Linked DNA regions of Homo sapiens: region 2 is linked to region 1. Evidence: promoter capture Hi-C in 16 types of primary human blood cells and fetal thymus (Javierre and others, 2016). All regions are on one chromosome and are shown on one strand. Each heading gives the region's core, a stretch centred on a gene start or on the middle of the fragment in contact. The rest is flanking DNA. Distances are from core to core; before and after follow the strand shown. Region 1 holds the start of TRAM1 (translocation associated membrane protein 1). Region 2 holds the start of SLC25A32 (solute carrier family 25 member 32).

Region 1 (3,263 bases), core at 619-3,118:
AAGATGATGCAATATTCTGGTAAAGAATATCCTAAATCCTCCCACAGACCTCCAATCATTTCTAGATTACTTATAATAACACAACATAACTGCTAAATAAATAGTTGGCTGTACTATATTATTTAGGGAATAATCATGGGGGGGTAGTCTGTAGATGTTCAGTACAAATGCAGTTTTTTTCTTGAATATCTTTTACTCCAGGTTGGTTGAATCCACAGTGTATGCGGCACCCACAGATATGGAGAGGCAACTGTATAGTGTGTGTAGTCAATAATGCTGGTACAGAGATTATGGCCTGTAGATGCAGGGCTCCAGTCTGTTGGGGTAGGCAAGGACCAAATCAGAAAGGGCTATTTCATCATGCTAGCTTTCCATGAAGGGAAAGGGAACCCGCTGAAAAACTTTCTGCCAGTAGAAGCATCATTCTAGTATAAACGTTGAAAGGTGATCTGAAGGGAAATGAAACTAGTGATTGCCCAGAAGGAGGAAAAGAATAATCCCTGACTAAATTTATAAAGCCCTTACTCCCCGCTAAGCAGTTTCCTTCAATCATCTCATTTAATCACTAAAATGAGCAATAGTTATCCCCACTTTATAGATGATATCCACAGGGCTTGCTCCCTCACCTCCTGCAGGTCTTCAGGCAAGTATAAGTGCCTCGCACTTTCCTATTCCCCTTGCTTTATTTTTCTCCTGGTTGCTCAACTCAATTTAACATCTGTTTCGCTTTTGAAATCTTGTTTAAAGATTCTCTCCCACACTAGAATGATAAGTCCCTAGGAATAATTTAATTTGTATTTCAGTTCTGTATCCCCAGTGCCCAGGACACAGTCAACCCTCAGTAAGTACATAAATGAATACATTTTTAAAAATGAGGAAATCGGGTCCCATAGAGATTAAGTAACTTGTCCTTGATCGTACAAGTAATAAGTGGCAGAATTCTGATTTAACAACCCACATTCTTAAACCACTAAGTGGTTACACCAGAGTTGTAATATTGTAGGCAAGAGGCAAGTACCCTCGGACTGCGGTAGTGGGGAAGCGGGGTGATAGGTCTGCCTCGAATTGGTGATGACTGGATGTGGAAGGGCGCTGAAAGGGCTCAATCTAGCATGACTTTGGTTTCTACATTTGGCTTATGGGTAAACAGGAGAGCAATTCTTCAGGAAAAAGAATACAAAGGACTCCAGGTTTGGGCAAAACGATAAGAGGAGGACGTGTCTTAATCCACGATCCTTTTTAACTCTTTTACTATTTCCCTTAGATTACTAAAACATGTTGTTAATTTGAATATATGTGAAGCCAGTAAACCCAAACTGATCCCTTCGTCTTCAGTCTGAGGCCAGTGGGGGATAGGGGTGGGGATGGGGACGGGGATGGGGGTGGGGACGGAGAGGCAGACCAGAATAGGGTCAGCTCTTTTTTTTTTTTTAAGTTAGTCCAAACTTACCAAGAGTAGAAATAAGTCCCCAGCAGTGCTTAACTCTGAGGTAATTTTTAAGGCAGATGCTAAAACTGGAGAATACACCGTACCCTTGTGGAGTCAGGTAGTATTCGTAGTTTTAGATTATCCTGACGGTGTTAGTCACTTGTAGAAGTGACAATGTGCAACAGGCCACTGACACCCAATCCCTGGATGGCCAGGAGGGCAGGAGGGCACCCGGCCGCGGCCTCAGGCTGCTGAGCAGGCGCAGGAAGCTCGCGCCTCAAACGACTCCCAAACCCGGGCCCGGCGCGAAGCAGGGAAGCGCCGCTCACATTCCTGCACGCTCGCCCGGCCGCGGGCCAGCGGCCTCCGGTCCCCAGGTGGCGCTGTGGGCTCGCGGAGGCGGCCGCGGCACCAGGGAGCGTCGTCTCCCTGGTGCGCATGCTCGCCCCCGCTGCGGGCTAGCTGTTGTGTTTTTTTTTTTCCCCCGGGCGGCCCGGCGGCTGCGTACTGGCTGTGGGATGGGAAGTGAAGCCCCAGCGAGCGGCTGCAGCGGGGCCGTGAGGAGCAGCCAGCGGGAGGCGGCGGCGAGTCGGTGAGCAGCTGGGAAGAGCAGAACCGGGGCGGAGCACCTGCAGGCGCGGGCGGCGGCCCCACCATGGCGATTCGCAAGAAAAGCACCAAGAGCCCCCCAGTGCTGAGCCACGAATTCGTCCTGCAGAATCACGCGGACATCGTCTCCTGTGTGGCGATGGTCTTCCTGCTGGGGCTCATGTTTGAGGTGAGCCCGCCCCGAGTCCCAACCGCCTGCCCCGCCACCTCCAGCCCGGGCCCGGGCTCCAGATGCCAGCCCCGGCTTCTCCGCCCAGGACGCGGGGGGCTCGGGCCCGGGGTGGGTGCAGACCCCCAGTCCCTGAGGTGCAGGCCTTCCCTGCCCTGCCCCACGTCGGCGGCAGCTCCCCGGCGGCCGGCCCGGAGATGCAAAGTCCCGGTGGGCCTCATCGCGGCCCGCAGGGGGTGGGGACCGCCGCGTCGCCCCCTTCCTGACCCGCCGCCGCCCCCTCCCGCAGGCTGCGCGGCGCAGTTCCTGGTTCCCGCGAAGGGTTACGTGGCAGCCGGCGAGGGGCCTGCGGGCGGGGGCGGCCCCTGCGCTGCCGAGCTGGCTCGGGGCGGGTGGGCGGACTTGGGGGGACTGCCAGCCTCGGCCGCGGTGAGCGTCAGCCCCGCGAGGGCCGGGGAAGGCCGAGGCCCGGCCCCCGGGTCTGAGGAGTGCCGGCCTGGAGACCACAGGCCCCGAGTGACAGGGGAGCCCCCGGTAGCTCCGAGATTGGGGTGAGCGAGAAACCGGAGTCAGGCATCTGCTTTCGACTTGAAGGGCGGTGGCCGCCGGGCACCGGCGCAGTGGAGGCGCGCCAGATTGTTTTCATTTTTGTCTTTTAAACTGATATTATTACCAGTTAACGAACTTTTTGCCCTGACGCTTTAAAGAAACAAGGTCTGATGGATAAATCGAGGTTCTGAACAGCGGTGCCAAGGAATCGAGTAATTTTGTTTCTTGAAGTAGGAGAGGATGGGAATGTCAGGAGTGTGTAAATTCTCTTCCCACGTATCTAGTATTTTGATGACTTATTTAACAGCTGTTGAATGTGGATGATAAACTTTGCAAGGTGAACGAGTAACATCCTACGTTTTTCCCCTCGCTCCCCAATACACACGCTCATTCCTTTGCTTTTTTCCCTTTTTAATTTTTCTCTGGAGCCTTTATGTCTCAGTAAATATACAAATTATTTTGCTCCTGCCTTGTTTTGTCTCCTCTCTCCTGCATGTAACAAGTGAG
Region 2 (3,414 bases), core at 546-3,045, about 33 Mb before region 1:
TTTTAATAATTTCAACAGAAGTTTAAAAACCCCAACAAGATAGATCATTTTGTTTCTAAATCTCTTCATGTAGGCAAAAATGAATCTTTATAGATGGAGAAACTGACATTTATTAAAGCAACTATGTGCTAGGTGCTGTCTTAACAGTGCATACACGAACATGATTCTTCCCCTTTTTGGAGGCTAAGTCTGATGGGAAAGACTATTAACCAAAATAATAATCATGAGACAATGTGATAAACACTGTGAAGAAGTGATAGAATCACAGAAGACGGGTGCTGAAGGGGGCGGGGCTCATGCAGGAGGTAAGCAGGAACAGATTACTGTTCGGTGAAAGTCTTCCAGAGAAAGCGGCTAAACTGGGTAAGGGTGTGTGCCACAGGAGGCCTTAAAAAAGATGACTGAAACGCACTGAGATTTGCAAGGGTGAATACTAAACCACTTGTGGGAAACGTAGTGACTGACTAAAGTGGCAAGGAAGGTGGGACCAGAGATTCAAGGACTGGGAACGATGCCAAATCCAAGTGACAAATCTAATTTATATTTTAGAAACATTACTGCCTTGTGACAAACTGTAAACATCTTTTGAGCAGAGACTTATTAGCAATGCTCACACACATGTTGATAATATCTCCTACTCAACCAAAATAGTGAAATACTGTTTTCGCCTCATCTCATCTCGCTTACTCCTCATTCAAACTAATGACACAGCCCTTCTTTCTATGCCTTAGGTTCATTCCTGCCTGAAGACCTTTGCTCCTGTTATTCTCTTTATTTAGAACAATCTGCTTACGCATGGTTGGTCCCTTGTCATTTAGGTATCACAAAGTACAATTTATAAGTGGTTAGCATGTTAACGGGGGAACAGACCAGGAAGGATAAATTAATTTCATTTAACCATTCTTTCATCAAACTTCTTAAGGGATGGTAAGAGAAAACTGATGCTTTTAAATTCATCTTTGTCTCTTCCAACATCCACAACTAATGTGAAGTAGTAAAGCGGCAAGAAGAGCAGTAGGAAGGTTTTAAAAGCCTGTTTAACTCTCAGCCCTTCAACCCACGAGTTTGGCTCATTCAAGTCCACTTTTCAGTAATAGGAACCTGAAGACAATCCCAGAGCAGCAGCTGGAATTTTTCTCCACTATAGACAACTGTTTCCCACTCACCACTAGAGGAAATTCTTAGAAAAAGGACTTGAACAGACTTTACTTGCTATCCATCCAGTTCCGCAGCGACTCCGTAAGCACAAAGTTTGCCTTAGCGAAAGGTAACTGAGAAAGAACCAGACCAGAGTGCCAGCCTCCCCCGGCTTTACTCCGCGAAAGCCGAGGCTAGACCCAACGACTTGCGGAAACCGTCCCTTTCTCCCTACCAACTTATCTTACCTCTCTGTAAGTCCAACTTGGTTTCGCGGACATAATTGTCCGGATTCCGGCTCAGCATCTTCACCTTCATCTCGGTTGCTCTTCCGGCCGGACTCCACGAGGTGTCCGCTAGGAGTTCCGCCCACCGCCACCTCCTCCCACAGGCGACTTCCGCTTTTCCCAGACTACTTCCAGTCACGTGACTCGCGGAGCGGCGGCCTGCTGGCTCAACTGGATCCTGCGCCGCTCCGTAGTTTTGCCGGCAAACGTTAGCAAGGGGCGGTTCTTTAGCTGTGCAGTCGCTTCCGCGTCCGTGGGCTGGAGCATTTGTGGGCGAGGCAGGGCGGAGACTCGGGAGAGGCTGGGACCTCCCCTCCATCGCGCTTTCCGCCGGCGTGACGTAGTGTCTGTGCCCCGTTCTTGCCCCCTCAGTACTAGAGTCTCCGGCTTCGCTCACGCGCCTTGGGCATAAGAGTCCTCTCGTTGGTCCCGGAGGTGGGGTTGCGCTCACAAGGGGCGACCGTCGCCACGGTGGCGGCCACTGCATCGCGTCCCACCTCCGCGGCCCTGGGCGCCGTGGTGTCGACGGGCCCCGAGCCTATGACGGGCCAGGGCCAGTCGGCGTCCGGGTCGTCGGCGTGGAGCACGGTATTCCGCCACGTCCGGTATGAGAACCTGATAGCGGGCGTGAGCGGCGGCGTCTTATCCAACCTTGCGCTGCATCCGCTCGACCTCGTGAAGATCCGCTTCGCCGGTAAGAGCCCGCCCAGACACCGGGCTGCATCCTCTCACTGTCAGCCCGAACTGGATCTCCTCCGTCTTTTCCGTTCTAGGGGGAGGAGGAGCGTTGAAGGGAGCGTTGCTGTCCGCGTTGGCTAACCTGAACTAGATTTGAGGAAATGGTGCTTGGTGGAGGGGTCGGCCTGCGATCTTCCCCGCTCCTCAAGACTAAGAGAGGGGGCATGTATGTAGAGAAGTCTGAGAAAAAACATCCTCATTGGCAGAGAAGATGGGATTCAAAGCCTGATTTGTAAAATAAAGAAGGGATTGTCACATTTTAAGGTTTAGTCCTCACACGTGCAAATCATTCACTCTTGGAGGAACTTTGAAATCTTAGCATACCCACGTGGTTTGGCAGCTCGACTAGTATTGGGATAGGGCGTAATCTTCAGCGAATGGTTGGGAGTAGATTTAGAATAGAATTCTCTTGAATGTTTGTTTTTTGGCATTTGTAGAATGGTACAAGTTTCTGTGAAAAAATAGCTAGAATCGAAATACTATTTTAAGTGTATTAGATGAATTGAGTATGTTGAAATTAACAAAGCATTTTAGAAGTTAAACTCAACACTAAAGTCTGGAAAGAGTTTCAAAGATGATCTTTGATAACTGAAATTGCAGAAAATAGTTTCCAAATAAAGTTATTACAAGTTAAGTTCAGCCTTGAGAATTAAATCTACAGAAGTTGTTTATTTTAGCATTAGGCAATTCAGTTCACTTGATTTATATTCTCTTAATATTTGTAGACTGCTGTATGGGCTACAGAAGTATCTAATAAAGTTCTTGCCTTCAGGGAACTTAGAATTTAATTGTAGGCGTTAGACTTAGTCATATAAAAGGTAATTCTAGACAACATAAAATCAAGAAATACAAAAACAAAATATAAATACAGGTAAACCGTTAAGAAAATTCTACATTACTGATGGCCATGTGTATCTTTAAGGTTCAGTGGAAGATTGGGGCTTGGGGTTTCCCATAGAAGGGCTAATATTTTGACAGCTGGAGAGGAAGCAAGAACCCGTTCTATGAAGGAAAATCATCGAAAATTATGGAGTATTATCTCTAGAAAAAACACCACAAAGACATATAATGTCATGAAGTTTTATGATGCATGCACAAATAATTATGTTATTGACAAGTAATCTTTATCGAGTATTTACTAGGAGCAAGGCAGTGAACTATGCTTTAGATGCATTATCTCATTTATTATCCTGTAAATCTATTCACAGGAACAATCCTGTGAGTTTATGATATCTGCTATACAGATGAGGAT

Evidence for each region. The method cuts DNA at HindIII sites, captures the fragments that hold promoters and counts their contacts. A CHiCAGO score of 5 or more calls a contact.
Region 2: the fragment with the promoter of SLC25A32 here is called in contact with the fragment with the promoter of TRAM1 in region 1 in 1 of 17 cell types (activated CD4 T cells); the score reaches 6.3 in activated CD4 T cells.

Annotation. Positions count from the first base shown.
Region 1 is chr8:70,607,021-70,610,283 of GRCh38, reverse strand. It overlaps TRAM1 (translocation associated membrane protein 1), which reads left to right and starts at 1,868. Exons shown (of 11, transcript NM_014294.6): 1 at 1,868-2,207. The coding sequence starts at 2,085. LACTB2-AS1 (LACTB2 antisense RNA 1) reads right to left here and starts at 1,707. Exons shown (of 4, transcript NR_038881.1): 1 at 1,451-1,707. RefSeq lists silencers at 1,702-1,871, 1,952-2,001, 2,062-2,121, 2,172-2,351, 2,372-2,821. The HindIII fragment of the contact is 3,860 bases long and covers 1-3,263 here.
Region 2 is chr8:103,413,488-103,416,901 of GRCh38, reverse strand. It overlaps SLC25A32 (solute carrier family 25 member 32), which reads left to right and starts at 1,795. Exons shown (of 7, transcript NM_030780.5): 1 at 1,795-2,118. The coding sequence starts at 1,965. DCAF13 (DDB1 and CUL4 associated factor 13) reads right to left here and starts at 1,516. Exons shown (of 11, transcript NM_015420.7): 1 at 1,386-1,516. The coding sequence starts at 1,455. RefSeq lists enhancers at 1,435-1,774, 1,508-2,129. The HindIII fragment of the contact is 9,226 bases long and covers 1-3,414 here.